2 separate regions of the Homo sapiens genome follow, and region 1 is linked to region 2. Evidence: promoter capture Hi-C in 16 types of primary human blood cells and fetal thymus (Javierre and others, 2016). All regions are on one chromosome and are shown on one strand. Each heading gives the region's core, a stretch centred on a gene start or on the middle of the fragment in contact. The rest is flanking DNA. Distances are from core to core; before and after follow the strand shown.

Region 1 (4,396 bases), core at 310-2,809, 510 kb after region 2:
ATTTTTTTTTGGCATTTAGCCCTGTACTATATTTTGTCTTTCTTTAGTATCCTTCCCTCTTTATGTCTACAACTCTCAGCTTTCCAGTTTCCCTCCTGCTTCTCTGATCACTTCCTTCAGTATCTTTTTCTGGTCTCTTTGTTGTCTCTCTTTTGTTTGAGCCAGGATTCTCAGTTACAACAGGAAGTAAGTTTATTACATGGAAATCTGTCTAAAATAGAAATGCTAAGGAAGTTGGAGGATCAGCTGGAAAAATAGGCAGAAACAGAAGGAAGCAAGACAGCCAGTCAACAGCTAAAGCCACGTTCCAACACTAGCTGATGAGGGCTGTTCTTCCTGCTGCTGAACTTGGGTGCCACAGCCTCCACTGCTGATGCCACTGTTGCCAAAGTCAAGGATGCATTAGCTAGAGTCTTGTCATTGCTGCCTTTGCTACCAAATTCTCTTTTGTTCCTGTACCTTTATCTTCCCTCTCCAAATTGCAAAACTATGGAGGGTTGGTTTTTAAACCGTCTTTGCAGAAATTATAACAGTAAGAAAATTATGGCAGTAAAAGAGATCTATCTAACCCACCTCCCATTATGCCTTTCCCTTAATTATTCCTGGGATTTTGGGCTGAACTAACTTTGACAGACATTTAGTTAATAGTTTAAATGATAATAGGCCTTCCCCAAAACTCAACAACCTTTGTAAAGCTAATGAAAGGCCCTCAGGTTGGGGGAGGAGAGGAATCTGAATTCTGCTAAGGTATAGACATAAATGATTGCCAACCATTCCTGCAAATAATACCAGTATTGTAGATTGGCCTTTTGAGATATCTTTTCAGGTTTTTTTGCATGTCTGACACCCATGGCTCCACCTGGACCCACCAACCCATCTCCTGTGGCCCCACTCAGAGTGATTCAATGCACAGAAGGACAGCTTCAAACCCCTACGATTTCATCTCTGACCCAACACATCAGCAGTAAGCACCCATTACCTGGCCACCCCCACTCCTTCCCCCAAACTGCCACTGAAAAACCCCTAACTACAGGCCTTTGGGGAGATTCATCTGGGTACTAACTTTGTCTCCCACATAGTGTAGCTGGCCTGATGTCTATTAAACTCTTCCTTTACTGCAATGCCATCATCTCTGTGAATTGATTTTGTTTGTGCAGCAAGCAGGAAGAAGCCCTCTGGCAGTTACAATTTGACTGGCCAAACTCAGATCAAGTGTTTCACTCTAGGTGCAAGATAAATGTGAAAGTGTGTTTCTACCTCTCTGGTTTCTAGAATGGGTGGTAACTTCTTCCCACCACCAAGACACATGTAGATGAAAAGGGGATGGCTAATAATTCTAATAAATGAGGCATATACATATTATCACCTCTGTAATACAACTTCCTTGAGTTTTTCCTTCCACTTTGTGTACTCTCCAATTGCTAGGTCTTCCATAATGATTCCTTCATCTACTCCAAACCAAGTCATTATTTCTAGTAAGTTCCAGTAAATTCATACTACTAAGTTCATCTGACCTGGATATTCAGATGATTCTCTGTTTGAAATGCTTGTTCCCGTGCCATAAAGAAATAGCACTTGAACATAAATTTAATTTATTTAGTAAGGTCATTTTTACTTCCTGTAGAAACGGTACACTCACCAGCAGTTCTGCCACAAGAGTACACCAAAAAAAGGAGATGCATCCTGACGCATCCACCCTACTGCTGTGTCGGGTTTCCGTGGGCTGGAACAGGACCTCACATTCTGTATTTGTCCCGATTGGCTAGCAACTTAGAACTTTTTAAAAGAGGCAAAGGTAGAGGAGAACAAAGAAAGGAGGAAGTCACTTGTGGAATGTTGAGAAAGGTAAAAACACTTTTAAATAAGGAAGAGGAACAGGCTATGACCTAACGCTTGCTTGGACCAGTATAAGTATGCCAGGGCAAATATTTAGGCTAAATTGTGGAAGCTAAGAACATAAAGTACGTTGATTTCTTTATTATGGCTAGCAGATATTTAAGAATGTTAGCACAGGTCTTTGAATACATTTTGCTTCTAAGAGAAGTTACTATTTATTCCTAATTAGACGGGGAGGAAAGTCTTTGAAGAGGAACCTCTGCTTTACTTTTTACATTCTCCTTCCACAAATTTGCCAATGCATCTGAGCTCTCAATCTGCGTTTTTGATGGCCATCTGCCCAGCCCATATAATTCCATTCTCCTTCATTGGTCACCCCCTACATATCCAAAATGTCATTAAGTCCTTATGACACTACATTTTAAATTCTTTTGAATCTATTGCCTTGTCCTCCTTATCACCCCCAAAGTCATATCACACAAGGACTAAGCACTTTGCATGCATTTGAGTCACCTGGGGAGCATGTTAAAAATGGAGACTTTTAGGCCTCCTTGTTGAACTACTATTTCTACAGTAATACCTTATAATCCATATTTTGCACAAAAAAAGGTACCCAGTTTATTCTGATATATAATCTTGTCTGAGACACATTGGACAATAGTAACTAAGTTTCCTTGTTAGTGTGCCTGATTCCAGTTTCCCTTTCCTGAAGGCTATTTGGCACAGTAAAAGGTATTTAATTTTTAAAAATTTAGGTTTTACCAAGGTGGCCAACTAGATGGAGCTGAAGTGCTACTCCCACAGGAAAAGACAATGATTTCAACTACACCAACATAATTTGAACAGATTATTTGCAGAGAAAATGCCAAATATGGATACAGAAAAGATGCAGTTGCTGAGGCTGAAGAGGGAGGGAGCTGGGAACTCCTCATGGGATGCCTGAATGTTATAACTGGTTCCCAGCCCTGAACAGCACCTGAGGAAGCGGTGCGTGAGAGGACTGGAGGACTGCCCACTCTCACCACAAACCTCTGGGAACCTAATACAGGGGCCCCACACCCCTAGGATGTGTGAGCTGGCAAGGGGGATCTCTCAGAGATTAGATGGAGCAGAGCACAGGTTAGCTCCAGCAGAACCCAGTCATGAAAGCCCACCAGCCAGGGCTGCCTGTCTGCCTCTGAGAAAGTCTAGCCCCAGGTAACCCCTGGGAGAAAGCAGGGCCTGCTTCCCCGTGGGCCTGGGGCACATCTGTTCTGCAGGCTGACTGAGCACCAGACCCTCCCAGAGCCCCTGCCTGGCTGCCTGGAAGGAGCAGTTACACAGTGCAACCTCCACTACCCAGCCTAGATGCTTTGCTCCACCTGAGTGCGTTCCAGCTGGGAGCCATTGCAATCACGCACCACACCTGGAACCCAACCCTGAGCATCCGAAGGAGGGAGCTGAGAACAGGTCCTGGCGCCCCAAGGATGTGGGCTCAGGAGTGCCAAGGTGGAATCTGTGCTTTGCACTTGAAAGGAGGAGGATCCCACACTCTCTCGGAAGACTGAGAGGGCTGAGTTGCACAGATTCGAAGGCTGGTGTGGGACCTAGCTGTGTCTGGCTCCACAGGGCTGGTCTGGTAAGGGTGCAGCCTATCTCCCTACCTGGCCTCTCCCTAAGGGAGCCCCATGGCCTGAAAGACTTAGCAACAACAATGACAACAACAAAAATCTTAGGCAGAGTGCCAGCAATCGGAGGTGACTTCCCAAGGCCCACGAGCAGACCTGGTGAGGGGATCACAGCTCTTCCCTTGCACCACAGAACAGATAAAAAAACGTGAAGATACACAAAGGAACTGCATGACTAAAGCCTGTTTACTGTCCATTGCCTTCAGGCGCCATCTGCTGGATCACATCCCTAACCACACCACCAAAAATTATTCTCCCTCCCGGAGAAACTAAGAGCAAGAATTCAACAGATCCTATTCAGCAAGAGATCCTGTCTCAGCAAGAGATCCTATTCAGAGCCTTAGCCCTCTGAAAACTTCCAGAAACTAAGCCAATTTGGTATATTCACTTTATACCAAAATTAAAGGAATACCACCACTTCTAGATGATAAAGAATTAGTACATGAACTCTGGCAATTCAAAAAGCCAGAATATCCCCTTACCTCCAAATGACCTTACTATCTCCCCAGAAATGATTCTTAACTAGCCTAAATTGTCTGAAATGACCATACATTGAATTCATAATCTGAATGGCAAGGAAGCTTATCTAGATTGAGAGAACATTGAAACTCAATCCAAAGAAGCCAGGGAATACAGTAAAATGATTCAAGAGCTAAAGGATGAAATCCCCATTTTAAGAAGGACCCAAAGTAAACTTCTGGAGCTGAAAAATTCACTATGAGAATTTCATAATATAATTGAAAGTATTGCCAGCAAAACAGATCCAGGTGAGGAAAGAATCTCAGAGCTCAAAGACTGGGTCTTTGAATCAACTCAGTCAGACAAAAATAAAGCAAAAAGAATTAAGAAAAATGAGCAAAACCTCCAAGACATATGCTTTATGCAATAGACCA
Region 2 (4,949 bases), core at 810-3,309:
CATGGATCCCATTGCTGAGTTCACACTGGAAGAGACTGTGCCAGCAGGGAGCCAAGAAACTTGAGCCTCATCGGCTTCACTGTAGATGTGCTTCTACTGCAGGCACTCACTAAACGTCGGGGAATAACTGGATCAGTGAATTAATGACACTGTGCTAAATTAGTATCTCTAAGATCCTTACAGCTCTAAAATTTGACATTTTTACAGGCTTCCTAATGCAATCTTAGAATTTAGTATTTAGAAATTTGTTCATATGAGTTCAGGTTATAACAATGTAGGACATATAGAAAACTAATAAGTGCTCAGAAAGCAAATGAAGGAAAATTCAATGGTCATTGTTTTATGACTTTAAGCTATTTTGTCATAGACGCAATTTGTCTTAGTGTAAACATGGCATTATTTGTATTTACCATTCACTTAAGTGCTTTGCTGTGCTACCGAGTGGAGATCAGAGTATTGTTAGATATATTATTAGTTAAAACCATAATTCATTAATTAAATCCTATTGACTCCCCCCCATTTTTATTCCAAGAAAAACTTCCTGAACGAAGTACCCTCTGGGTAGGCACTGGGGCCTGGTTTGATCACAGAACAAGTCAGGGACAAATGTGATAGTCATTCAATAATACGTTGGGAAGACAAATTATCATTTGGGCCTTTTAGCTGGAAGAAACAGTTTGCTTTATTACTCTCTTTGGGCTTTTTGGTAAGTGGGTCTTCAGTGGAGATTCTCTTATAAAATAATAAAGCTAGAATTGGGAACTTGTCTTATTCTAGTCTATTATCTTAGTCTTTTTCTATTTTCTCAGACTAGGCTCACAGAGAAATAGGAAAAATTTACCAAAGAGTAAAAAAGGATTAATCTTGAGGGATAGACTGAGATGAACCCGATTGATGGAAATCGGGCTGACTGAACTTTAATGGGTTAAATCCTGCCAGAACAAATGAGAATGAGTGTCTTGGCTCTATTGCAGTTAGTAGGAGCTGGAGGGCTTCTGGGAGGCAGCGTGGGGAGGCAGGGAGGCTCAATAGCCTCCAGCAGGTGCTGAAAGGACTTGGGGCTTATAGGTATGCAATCTACTTATGAGCAACCTTCTCCTCCAGCACCCGAAAGCCAGAGGGGAGATTACTCCAAGGCTCCCCTCTGCTGTGGACATTTCATTTTTATCTCATTTACTTGTATACATTTTTTAATGAACAAAAGCCATATCACTTCCTTGACGTCTACTCCAGGGGCAGCTTGCCTTCAAACAAAAACAAAACACTTGGGGTGAATGGGCCTCTCAGTATCTCCTGTACTAGCTGCTATAGGGTATGAAAAACCAAGAAAAATCCATACCACTGTACTTAGACTTAAAACAAGTCTTAAGCACCCTTTGGTTCCCAGATTTCAGTGGCATCTGTGTAACGACTGCAAAATATGTTGCAGCATTGACAAGCTTGAAATCATACTTTTTGATCAGTGCCGTTTTTGAAAGAGTTCGCAGGGAAGTATGGCGTGTGAAAAGTCTGAAGCACAGCGCGGTTAGGAAAAGTCACACCACAGAAAGCCAGCAGAACGCGCCGGGAGGTGGTGACCGCCTGACAGGTACCCCCTTCTCCCTCCCGCCGCCCGGTTCTGTGCTAACGCGACTTTCGCCCTCAGGGTTGGAGCTGTATTTGCGGTAGCTGTTTCTTAGCTCCCAGCAAGTCCGGGGCGCCCCGGTACTGCAGTTTGCCAAGTGTTTTCACAAACCTTAGTTCATAAACCTCTTTCAAAAGCCCGAAGAAAACCGTTTCTGTGCTCTGACTGTAGAATAGAAAACACAACGGTCACAGAAAGTAATTGAAGGCAAAGCCCAACAGGCTGCAGCCTGAACTTGTTTGAGCCGTAAGCCCGAGCCTAGCGTCGCACGCTGGGCGACTCCCCTCAGGCTCTCAGGCCGGCGCCTTCGGGGGACCACGTAGCGCCCCAGCGGTGGCGGCTGCGCCCGGCTCAGGGCGGTGCCGCGGCCACTGGCTCCTCCTCGGGGTGGGGCGGGCCGCGCCGGGCGAGGGCGGGAGGAGGAGCAGCCGCAGCGGCGTGAGGAGCTGCCGCGCGAGGAGCGCGTCGCGTCCGCACTTCTCCTGCCCGAGAGAGACTGAGCCGCGCTGGCAGCTCGCGTCGAGTCGGTCTGCCCTAGCCGCATCCCGCGGCGCCCGGTCGGGCTCCGGGCACCAGGCAACACCTAGGCCGTTCCCTTCAGACAGCCCCGGGCCAGCGGCCCCCTCGGGAAATGTCCAGCGGCCGCAGAAGGGGCAGCGCCCCCTGGCACAGCTTCTCCCGGTTCTTCGCTCCCCGAAGTCCTTCCCGGGACAAGGAAGAGGAAGAGGAGGAGAGGCCGGGGACGAGCCCGCCTCCAGCTCCAGGCCGGTCCGCTGCCAGGTGGGAGTCGAGGAGGGGGTCGCGGGGGGGCCCTGCACATATTCGCGGGATGAAGGCTCCCGGCCTGACCGCCGGCAGCGGGCCGCTCTTGGGCCAGGCTGCAGTTCGCTCGCCACTTTCTGTTCTCCTTCCTCCATTGCTAAAGTTTCCTCCTCCTTGCCCCGTTCCCGTGCCGCACTACTCGCCTCTCCTCTGCAGGTTAAATCGGGGTGAAGTTCTTGCCCGGCAGCCGGACGCATATCCCCCGATCCCCGCCTGGCTCCGCGCTCTTCCTTTCCCACTTTCCCCTGCCCGGACGTGATTGGGTTCCCGTTCCACACACGCTCTACTCTCCAAGTTCTGTGGCAAAAGCGATTTCCCCGGCGTCCCGCCTGCAGTAATGGGAAACACTTGTGAGCCGAGCGGAGCCGTCGGCCAGGGGAATTGGGGGCGCGATCCCAGCACCACTTGTGTGGGAGGAGATCGGGGCAAAAGTGGAAAAGGTAAAGCTTTGGGGCGTCACCCCCTCAGCTGGTATTTTTGCCATCTTATTTAAATTTTCTCAAAATGATTTTTAAAAGGAATTGTGATAATGCGTTCCCAAGACTTTCACCAAAATGGACTGGACATGTAAATGACGCCACCCTTCTTTATTTCTCATCTCTCCTAGAAACATCTGCCTCAAGTTCCCAAACAGATTCTGGAAATCAGGTTTCCAGCTGTCTTGGTTTCAGTAATCAAAATGTACCCTTTCTCTGTAATATTTTTATCTTTCCTTCACTTTCCCATGTTCAAAAATCAAAAAATTTTAGACATGCCTCATTTAAATGCCTGTTTCTGAGTCTTTTCATCCCCCCGAAGAAAGAGGGGTTAAGTAAAACGCAGCTCGCTTTCTTAAACTTATGAGAGGCTTACACTGTCTTCTCCCGAGATTGCACTAGAATGACCATTGTCATTGGAAGGACACACTCCAGAAAACCGTGTTTACTTCGGACTCAAGATTTCCTGGTGGGCTTAAAAAAAATGGATAGGAAACAGAACTGAGAGTGAGCCAATTCCATTAGTATTCAGATTTTGTGATGTGATTTTAGTCGTTTGTGTGTTCCTCGGTTTCCCCGCTTGTGAAACATTTTCATTATGACCGTCTGTTAATAACATGCCACATGTTTCCAAGAAAGCTCCTACGATAATTGAGTGGTTATTCTCCTGGGACGTTTCAGCTATTATTGCTCTGACTGTTGAGAGTTTAAAATTCAAAGTTACACAGAAGTTAAAAATAGTTTTTAAGTCTGACAGATCTCATCCAGGGTGTCAGCTAGTTCTGTTGGTGTGGGCAGACAGCCTGTGGTGCCTGCCACCGCCGTAACAGCACTAACAGTCTTGGATAATATGAACGCAGTCTGCAAGGAAATCCCAAGTAGGCGCAGCAAAAGTTGGGAACTTGAGAGTCAGTGTTAGAAAGGAGTAAGCAGGTCAAATTCAGGCTCATGTCAGTAATGGCCTGAAATCCTGCTTGCCTCTCTGCCCTATTTTGGCTTTTTAAGGCACTTCTCAATTCTAATTTCTTTACTGACTGGAGCTGACCCCTCCAGCAACTAGTTCCTTGTTCACCTACCACTTCTCTATTCTCATCATCTCCAGATTGGCACAAATTATGGCTTTTCAACGATGAAGATTTTAATTGTGCTTATATCAACGCTAATTTTGTTCTCATCTTTTTTGGAACTTGCCAGATGTTAGGGGGATAGCAGATGACCCTTTATGTGGGTGTTTTACTGTTTTAAATGAGCTTAAATCTTTCATTTCAAGGGCATAAACAAACACAAAGCCTTTATTGAAAGTTTAATAAAACAAATGGAACCGCTTTATAGTACTGAATGTCCCAGTAACACAACACCCTGATGTTAACAAGATTGGAAACAGAATTGCAATTTGTCACTGTGATCTTATTTCAAAATGAAAGAGTATTTTGGCTATTTCTCTTTGTGGGCATAAAAACTTTTATCATTATGAGAGCTGGGTATACCTTCTGTAGTGATGATTTTAGATGAAGAGGAGTACAAAATTAAAAAATAAACTAAAACATAATTATGAGACCCGTAAAAGTCGAATTTACAACATCCTGAAACTGTTTTTTTGCCTGCTCACAAAATGCGTACTGGGACAAACACCAGGTCTTTGGGGAGCTGCCATGCCTTGATACAGGTCTTCCAATATTTTACTGTTTTGAACCATAGGAAAATCTTTGTTTTTATGGTGTGCTGTGATTTATATGGGCTTCAGTTGGTGACAACACTTCATTATGTATTCTTTCTTTGTCACAATTAAAGAAGGCCTATTAGCATCAACACTATTGTATATCCCAACTTAGGCGTAGGCACTCAAATTGCTTGATTGTACTCATATTAGGTGGTTGACCATTTCCAGGAAATGCTTATATTAATTTATTTTAGATGATAAAAAGGAAAACTGCAATTGAAGTTTTCATAGGAAACTCAAAAACTCCCAGAGTTCTGTGGATCCCAGTTTGAGAATCACTGGTGCAGTGTTAAGCCCAGTTTATAAG

Evidence for each region. The method cuts DNA at HindIII sites, captures the fragments that hold promoters and counts their contacts. A CHiCAGO score of 5 or more calls a contact.
Region 1: a contact is called between a fragment that was not itself captured here and the fragment with the promoter of CRYBG3 in region 2, in 5 of 17 cell types (non-activated CD4 T cells, naive CD4 T cells, total CD8 T cells and 2 more). The highest score is 8.5, in non-activated CD4 T cells.

The regions. Positions count from the first base shown.
Region 1 is chr3:98,326,008-98,330,403 of GRCh38, forward strand. No RefSeq gene overlaps it. Among named protein-coding and RNA genes, the nearest start is that of OR5K4, 26 kb to the right of the region's middle. RefSeq lists enhancers at 427-1,025, 2,454-3,191, 3,192-3,928, 3,480-3,559, 3,620-3,739 and a silencer at 1,033-1,092. The HindIII fragment of the contact is 5,045 bases long and covers 1-4,082 here.
Region 2 is chr3:97,819,952-97,824,900 of GRCh38, forward strand. It overlaps CRYBG3 (crystallin beta-gamma domain containing 3), which reads left to right and starts at 2,060. Exons shown (of 22, transcript NM_153605.4): 1 at 2,060-2,404. The coding sequence starts at 2,256. It overlaps LOC101929298 (a long non-coding RNA gene), which reads right to left and starts at 1,825. Exons shown (of 3, transcript XR_427389.3): 1 at 1,736-1,825. RefSeq lists a silencer at 1,837-2,206. The HindIII fragment of the contact is 1,453 bases long and covers 1,438-2,890 here.